Regions from separate parts of the Homo sapiens genome. Here region 2 is linked to region 1. The links are contacts of gene promoters, found by promoter capture Hi-C in human tissues and cell types (Jung and others, 2019). All regions are on one chromosome and are shown on one strand. The core of a region is centred on a gene start or on the middle of the fragment in contact, and the rest is flanking DNA. Distances in the headings are between cores, read along the strand shown.

Region 1 (3,489 bases), core at 497-2,996:
ACATATTGAGACACAAACAGGAGATCGGTGGGGTAATCTCAGGAAAGGCAGAAGACAGGACTAAGCAAAAAGGTTCCACATCCATCTCCACAGTGGAAGACCGAGAGAAGAGAACGGGTGAAAAGACAGAAACGAGGAGGAGCATACGCCGCTGATGGTGCCAGCAGGGTTCTGCCAAGATTCCCTGAGTCCTCTCCACTGGGTAAGAGGAAGGGTGTCTGCTGGAAATGAGAGAGCCAGAGGTGGGTCTGAATGTTGGGGAGAGGAGTGGAGCAAGTGTGGAACAGCTCTGGGGGGGCTTCTCACATGTAATGTGTGTACAGGTCTTGGTAAATTGCAGGTTCCGATTCAGCAGGTCCCGGCAGGGCCTAAGAGTCTGGATTCCTCACCAGCTCCCAGGTGATGTCAATGCTGCTGGTCCGGGGACCACACTGTGAGAAGCAAGATTTAGAGAGGCAGATCAGGAGATGGAGAAAGAGACTGGCTTAAGAATTGTCTTAAGGAGAAACCCATGTTTGATAATCCCACCTAGGGTAAAAGCTGAGACCTGAAGGAGTCCTGGTGGGAATGGCAGCCCCCTGTGGGTGATGGGGAGAGGCATAGAGAGAAGGGGTGGTAAAGAGACCAGGAAAGGAGGTGAGAGGGCCTCTGTGATGGCAGGAGAACCAGCAGTGCCCCCAGGACGCCTCATCTGGGCCAATGTGTGACAGAACGCTAACTCACACTTGGAGGCCCCCCAGAAGAGGATGGGAGTGAGTTGGAGCAGGAAGGTGTTATTGCAGGGGTGTCTGAGCGTGAACATGGCAGGCAGGGCAGGTGGCCCCCATGCTGTTCTGCAGGAAAGTGCTGGACTCAGTCTGGGCTTGCTCGAAGCCTGGCCAGGACAACGTGGGGAGAGGGGCAGAAATGTCTCTGCCCCACGGTCAAGGGCCAGACGACTTCTGTGCCAGGAACTAATAAAAAAAAAGGAATGGGATCTGAGACGGGACGCGGCTGGGGAGAAACAGGAGGTGAGCTGGGCTCTGAGCCTACCTGTCCAACTCGCAATCAGAAATCAGGAGGTTCCTGAAAGGCACAGATGGAAACTGAAAATGCTTTAGGCTTAGGTAACCCAGCATCAGGAATCGGGATGGTTGGATGCAGGGACCTCGCCCAGCTTGTCTGGGGCCGCAGCCTACGGCAGGGACGTTTCAGTCCTTAGCTGGGGTGAAAGTGAGGTCAGGGTCGCCGGGGAAATGCGGGAGTACAGTCACGCGGGAGAAAGACGTCAAGAGCGAAAGCTCGGAGGCGTCAAAATGAGCAGCAAGTCCAGGCACAAGGCGTCGGGCGCGGAGAGTACGGCGGGTGCCGGGGGAGGGAGATGAGGCCGCGAAGACGCCGGGGCTTCGTCCGGCGGCGACGGGGAGGCCGCGGAGGTTCCCGAGCGCAGCGGGGCGCGCACCTCCCGCTCGGGCCGGGCTCCCTCGCCGCGCGGCCCCGGATCCTCCCTGCGCGGGTTTCCGTGGCCCCCGCCGGGCTCTTCCGTTCCCTCCCGCGGCCTCGACCAGGCCGCAGCCCCCAGCCCAGGCGACCGACTCGCCAGGGTCCGCCCCGCCGCCGCGGCCCGGGCCCGGCCGCTCCTCCCCCGATGATGTCACGTCCCCGGCCGCCCCTCGGCCGGCCGCGCCGCCCCGCCCCCGCCTCCCCCGGGCCCCCGTCCCCTGGGCCCGCCCGCTCCCGACATCCCTCCTCCCGCCTGCGCTCCCTCCCTTCGGCTACCGCTCCCCCGGGAGCGGCGGCGGCGGCGGCGGCGGCGGCGGGATGGCCCGGGCCCGAGGCCAGGCCCCGGGGAGCGGCGGGCGGCGGCGGCCGCGGCGGGGCGGCGCGGGAACCGGGCCCCGGGGGGAGTCGGCCGGGCTGCTGCTGCTGCTGCTCCAGGTGCTGCCGCCCGGGGCTACGGCAGGGCCGGGACGCCGGGGCACGCGGGGCGCTGGCGCTGGCGGCGGCGGCGTCTGCTGGCCCGGCGCGGCCCCAGCCTTTCCCCGGGACGCGCGGCTGCTGCTGCTCCTGCCGCCGCTGCCGCCACTGTCGCCGCCGCCGCCGAGCTCCGCGCCCGCAGCCTCCGCCTCCCGGATGGTAATCAGCGCCCCGCGCTGGCGCCGCGGGCGGGCGGGCGGGCGGGAGGTGGGGGCGGCGAGGGGGAAAGGGCGGGCGGCCCCGCGCCCCCGCCTTGCCCGAGGCAGCTCCCGGGGCGCTCGGGCCCCCCCTCCGACGACCGCGGCCCCGGGCAGCCGCCAGAGCGCGCCTCTGGGGCGCCTCCGCGCGGACCGGGTGCGGGCTCCGCTCCCCGCCCTCCCCGCCCCGCTCGCAGTCCGCCCGCCAGCGCTCAGGCCGCGGGGGAATCCCTCCATCTCCCCGCCCAGCGCCCCAGGAGGGGAGGGGACAGCGCCGGCGCCCGCGGACCCGCTTTCTCCGAGGGAGCGCCCAAGAGGCGAGCGCGCACTGAGCCACCCGGACTCGGCGCTGCGCTGCTGGAGGCGCCTGGTGCCGTCGGGTCGGGCTGAGCTAGACGCCCGCAGCCTCAGCGGGACCGGATCCGGGGCGGCGGGGGCGCTCACTCACCGCGCGCCCTCATGTTCCCTGCGCAGGACGCTCTGCCCCGCAGCGGGCTGAACCTGAAGGAGGAGCCGCTGCTGCCCGCCGGCCTGGGCTCAGTGCGCTCCTGGATGCAGGGCGCGGGCATCCTGGACGCCAGCACCGCGGCGCAGAGGTAAGCGCTCGGACCGGACCCGGTGCGCTCGGGTTGGACGGCTGCGCGCCGCCTCAGCTCAGCTTGCTGGAGCTGCTGGAGCCAGGGGCGGAAGGAGCCCTAACTCTGGACGGTCCCGGCGAGCTCCCCGGCCCACCCCGTCCGGAGTGCCTGTGCTGCCTCCTGAGGCTGTGGGGCGGGCTGGGGCGGGGCTTCTGCCTCCACTCCGGGCTGCCCCGGTAGATTTCTGACGGCCGCTCGCGGGTGCGGCGGTGAACGCCACCCCAGCCGGGCTGTCTATGGCTCTGAGAGAAGAGGCAGAGCTCCCAGCCATGACCCACAGCCACCGGCCGTCTAGGAACGTCCAGCCCCTCCTTCCTGGGCAGTCCCAGTGACTCTCCTTGTCCAATTCCGCAGCTCTCTGTCAGGAAAGGCACGAAACCCAGCCCCCTTTTTCCTTTCCCACGCCCCTCAGAGTTGGCGGATGGGGGTGTGCAGAGCCAGAGAAGCGGCTGGGGGCTGGACGGTGGCGAAGAGATGAGGTGGGCAGTCGGCCTGGCTGGACTGATTGGCCTGGGAACTGGGCAGGGCCCCTGCCTTTCCCTCGGGTGTTTTTCTGGTAGGTCCTTTGGAAGGCAGAGAGTCCCTGGGAACCCAGCACCCGCGCCGGTCTCCTCTGACTCCTTTGCAGGGGTCTGGGAGTCTCAGTAGGGGGTTGACTCCAGGATTTGAAAGCGAACTTTAAAAGTTTATTGACCTGC
Region 2 (3,489 bases), core at 465-2,964, 260 kb after region 1:
ACTTCTCTATCACATTGCCTTTCTCAAGAGAAGACATATAATGAAAGTTGATATCTGGTGTTCTAGGACTTCTTCAGAAGCTTGCCAGTTTTTCAAGCTGATTTCTCTCACTGGCAACTCTTCAGAGTGCTGTTCCTACTCCACCCTCCCCTGGTGGTATGTATCAGTTTTCTACTCATCAGCACCCACCTACTCCTGCCTACTGTGTTTCTCAGATGTCTGCTGCCTGGCTAGCTCATTGCTGCTTTTGTCACTCATAGAGCTGTCTTCTTCCCTTTTTTTGGCTTTCTGCCTGACTTCCAGGGCAGCTGCTCTGTCATTGCCTGTCTGCCATTCTGTCTTTTTTCCCCCTACCCCCCACAGATACAACATCTACTCTAATACCACACATTCTCCATGTTCAAACTAACCTCATCACTTTCCCCACCACATTCCCCAAAACTGGTCATCCTCCAGCTTATAGCATTGCAGTTCACTGAAGTTAGACATCTGGGCCTTGCTTACCTCCAACATCTCATTAGCCTTCGATTCTACCCCTATAAATCCTCTTCTCAGTCTCCTTTAGATATTCCTGCCCTGCTGTGAGATCCATCTGGTTTATTGGCTAGATTACTTCAGAAAGCTTCAGTCAGTGACCCTCCTTACTTCAAACCCCACCAGTTGATCCTTCACTCTGCCATCAGTCATTGCTTCTAAAATCTAAATTGTTCCATTTAACCTTGCTGTGATAAAACCTTTGGTAGTTCTTCAGTGTGTTCAGTGGTAAGTTAAAACTTTCACTGTAATGTACAGGCCCCTTCATGATATGATCGCTGCCTCCTCGAGCCTCATTGTGTGCATTTCCCCGCCCCACCCTTTCCTCACCCACCCTAGTCTTTCATGTCTGCCATTTTTACATTCATTTAGCAGATATTTATTGAAGCCCCCTGTGATGTCCTTACCTAGGTCTTTCTTGTTGCCAGGACCAGACAGGCTTTTTCAAGCTTCCAAGTCATCTCAGTTTGAAAGACTATGTCTGACCCTTGTCTTGGCCAATTACTCTTTATCCTTCCAAGTTCAATGATTGTCCCACTGCACTCCAACCAGAGTGAGAGAGCAAGACCCTGTCTCAGTAAATAAAAATAAATAAATAAATAAATAAATAAATAAATAAATCAGCCATAATTTATTTAATCATGTCTCTCTCCCCCATTGATAGACGTTAAGGGTATTTCCAGTATTCTTCTCTTGAAAACAATGCTACATTGAATAACCTTGTACATGGGTCACTTTGAAAGTATGGATATGTATCCGTGGAATAAGTTTCCAGAAGTGGAATTGTGTCAGAGGGGTTGTGCATTTGTAATTCTGATGAATATTTATAGATTATATGAGAGTACCTGTTTACTCAAACTCTTGCCAATGCAGCATTATCAAAGTTTTTTATGTTCGCCAGTGTGATAGATTAAAAAATGGTATCTCAGCCAGGCGCAGTGGCTCACGCCTGTAATCCCAGCACTTTGGGAGGCTGAGGCGGGCAGATCACGGGGTCAGGAGATCGAGACCATCCTGGCCAACACAGTGAAACCCTGTCTCTACTAAAAATACAAAAAATTATCCAGGCGTGGTGGCGGGCACCTGTAGTCCCAGCTACTCGGAAGGCTGAGGCAGGAGAATGGCATGAACCTGGGAGGCGGAGCTTGCACTGAGCCGAGATCGCGCCACAACATTCGAGCCTGGGCGACAGAGCGAGACTCCGTCTCAAATAATAAAAAAAAAAGATGGTATCTCAGCATTGATTTCTTTGATCATCAGTGAGGTTGAGCATCTTTTCATAGATTTAAGAGAACTGTATGGTTTTTTGTGAGTTATGTTTCATATCGTTTACCCATTTTACTTTTAGGCTGGAAGCAGCTGTTTTAGTGGAATGGTGGAACAAGAAGCCAGATTGCCATGGAGAGACAACTCTTTCTAGAGATTTGGCTATGAAGCAGAGTAGAGACAATGATAGCTGAAGGATTGATGTAGATGCAAAGAAATTTTTCATCTTCTTTGAAAACTTAATTGTGTTAAAAACTGGTATGAAAGGGAGGGGTTAAAGCTAGAGATGGTGGTAGAAAAAAATGCAGGGTTCCTAAAGGACTGAGATTCCTGGATGGAATTTCAGGGAAGGGGAAAATTTCTGGATATAGTGACTGGGGAGTTAAGGGTGTCTAGTCCAATGGCTTTTATTTTCTTGGAAGGGTAGGCAAGGCCAACAGCCACATGTGTGGGAGGAGATGGTTAGAGGGGAGAGGAGGTTTGAAGGCACCGCTATGGAGAATTGGAGAGAGCTAAGGAAAGACAGAAAGACTGCAGAAAGTGCTTAGGGTTCCACTGAAGCGGAAATAGTGATTTGTAGTGATACAACCCTTATGAGTTATTTGATTTTTTTTTTTTTTTAAGCAGCATCTGGCAGTCCAAGTATAGGGCTGACAGTTTGGGATTTTTCTTTCCATGTTGGTGTAAAAGAAGAACAGTGTAGTGAAGGAAGTTAGGACAAAAGAATGATTGAACTGACACCAAGTTTTCTTGATTTGGTAGAAAAGGAAATAAAGATAGAGCAGAGATATTGAAAAGAATTAGAGAGGGGTTCAAGAGACTGAAGGCCTGGGTGAGGTCAGAGAGCAGGTGTGGTAGACATAACAGAGAGAACTACAAGGATAGAAAGTGTGGTTGGAGAGTGGGAAGGCAAGATTTATTCAGTATGGGGGCTTTTCTGGGTGATGACAGCATCTGGAGTACAGCCATTGTCGTGAGTGGCCCAAGTGTAGCAGAGATAAAGCGTTGTTGGAGTGAAGGAAGTCAAGGAACTGAGAGGCTGGCCTAGATGGGGATTTTGGTTGTCATCCATGAGGATATTGAAGTCATCCAGGAGAATAGCAGGCCTGGGGGACAGGAAGGAAACTGAGCCACTTACAGTGTCTTCAGTGATAGGAAAGCACAGGGCAAAAAGCTTTCAAGAACAGGGACTGTTAAGCCGGGTACAGTGGCTCACACCTATAATCCTAGCATTTTGGGAGGCCAAGGCGGGTGGATCACTTGAGGTCAGGAGTTCAAGACCAGCCTGGCCAACATGGTGAAACCCCATCTCTACTAAAAAAAAAAAAAAAAAAAAAAAAAAAGAAATACAAAAATTAGCCAGGCATGGTGGCACGCGCCTGTAATCCCAGCTACTTGGGAGGCTGAGGCAGGAGAATTGCTTGAACCTAGGAGGCGGAGGTGGCAGTGAGCCTAGATCACACCACTGTACTCCAGCCTGGGCAACAGAGCGAGACTGTATCAAAAAAAAAAAAAAAAAAAAAGAACAGGGACTGTTAGAGCAGGCTCCAGGAGAAATGCTTTGCATATGGCATTCTTGAGGAGTGAGGAGGACCTCAACCCTACTTCCTGAAATGGAGCTCTGAGATGTTGGAGTAGAAATTTGGAAACCAGAGAGAGAAGTAAGGATAGTGTTGTTGCAAATGCATT

What was found. The method cuts DNA at HindIII sites, captures the fragments that hold promoters and counts their contacts. A contact is called where the count stands out against the background at its distance.
Region 2: a fragment that was not itself captured here is called in contact with the fragment with the promoter of EBF4 in region 1 in 3 of the 25 tissues and cell types used here (H1 embryonic stem cells, dorsolateral prefrontal cortex and spleen).

The regions. Positions count from the first base shown.
Region 1 is chr20:2,691,034-2,694,522 of GRCh38, forward strand. It overlaps EBF4 (EBF family member 4), which reads left to right and starts at 1,747. Exons shown (of 17, transcript NM_001395167.1): 1 at 1,747-2,749. The coding sequence starts at 2,613. LOC105372507 (a long non-coding RNA gene) reads right to left here and starts at 1,587. Exons shown (of 3, transcript XR_937210.3): 1 at 1,033-1,587; 2 at 307-431. RefSeq lists an enhancer at 2,918-3,489. The HindIII fragment of the contact is 20,356 bases long and covers 1-3,489 here.
Region 2 is chr20:2,955,543-2,959,031 of GRCh38, forward strand. All of the region lies in intron 3 of PTPRA (protein tyrosine phosphatase receptor type A), which reads left to right. Among named protein-coding and RNA genes, the nearest start is that of PTPRA, 84 kb to the left of the region's middle. The HindIII fragment of the contact is 4,102 bases long and covers 1-3,489 here.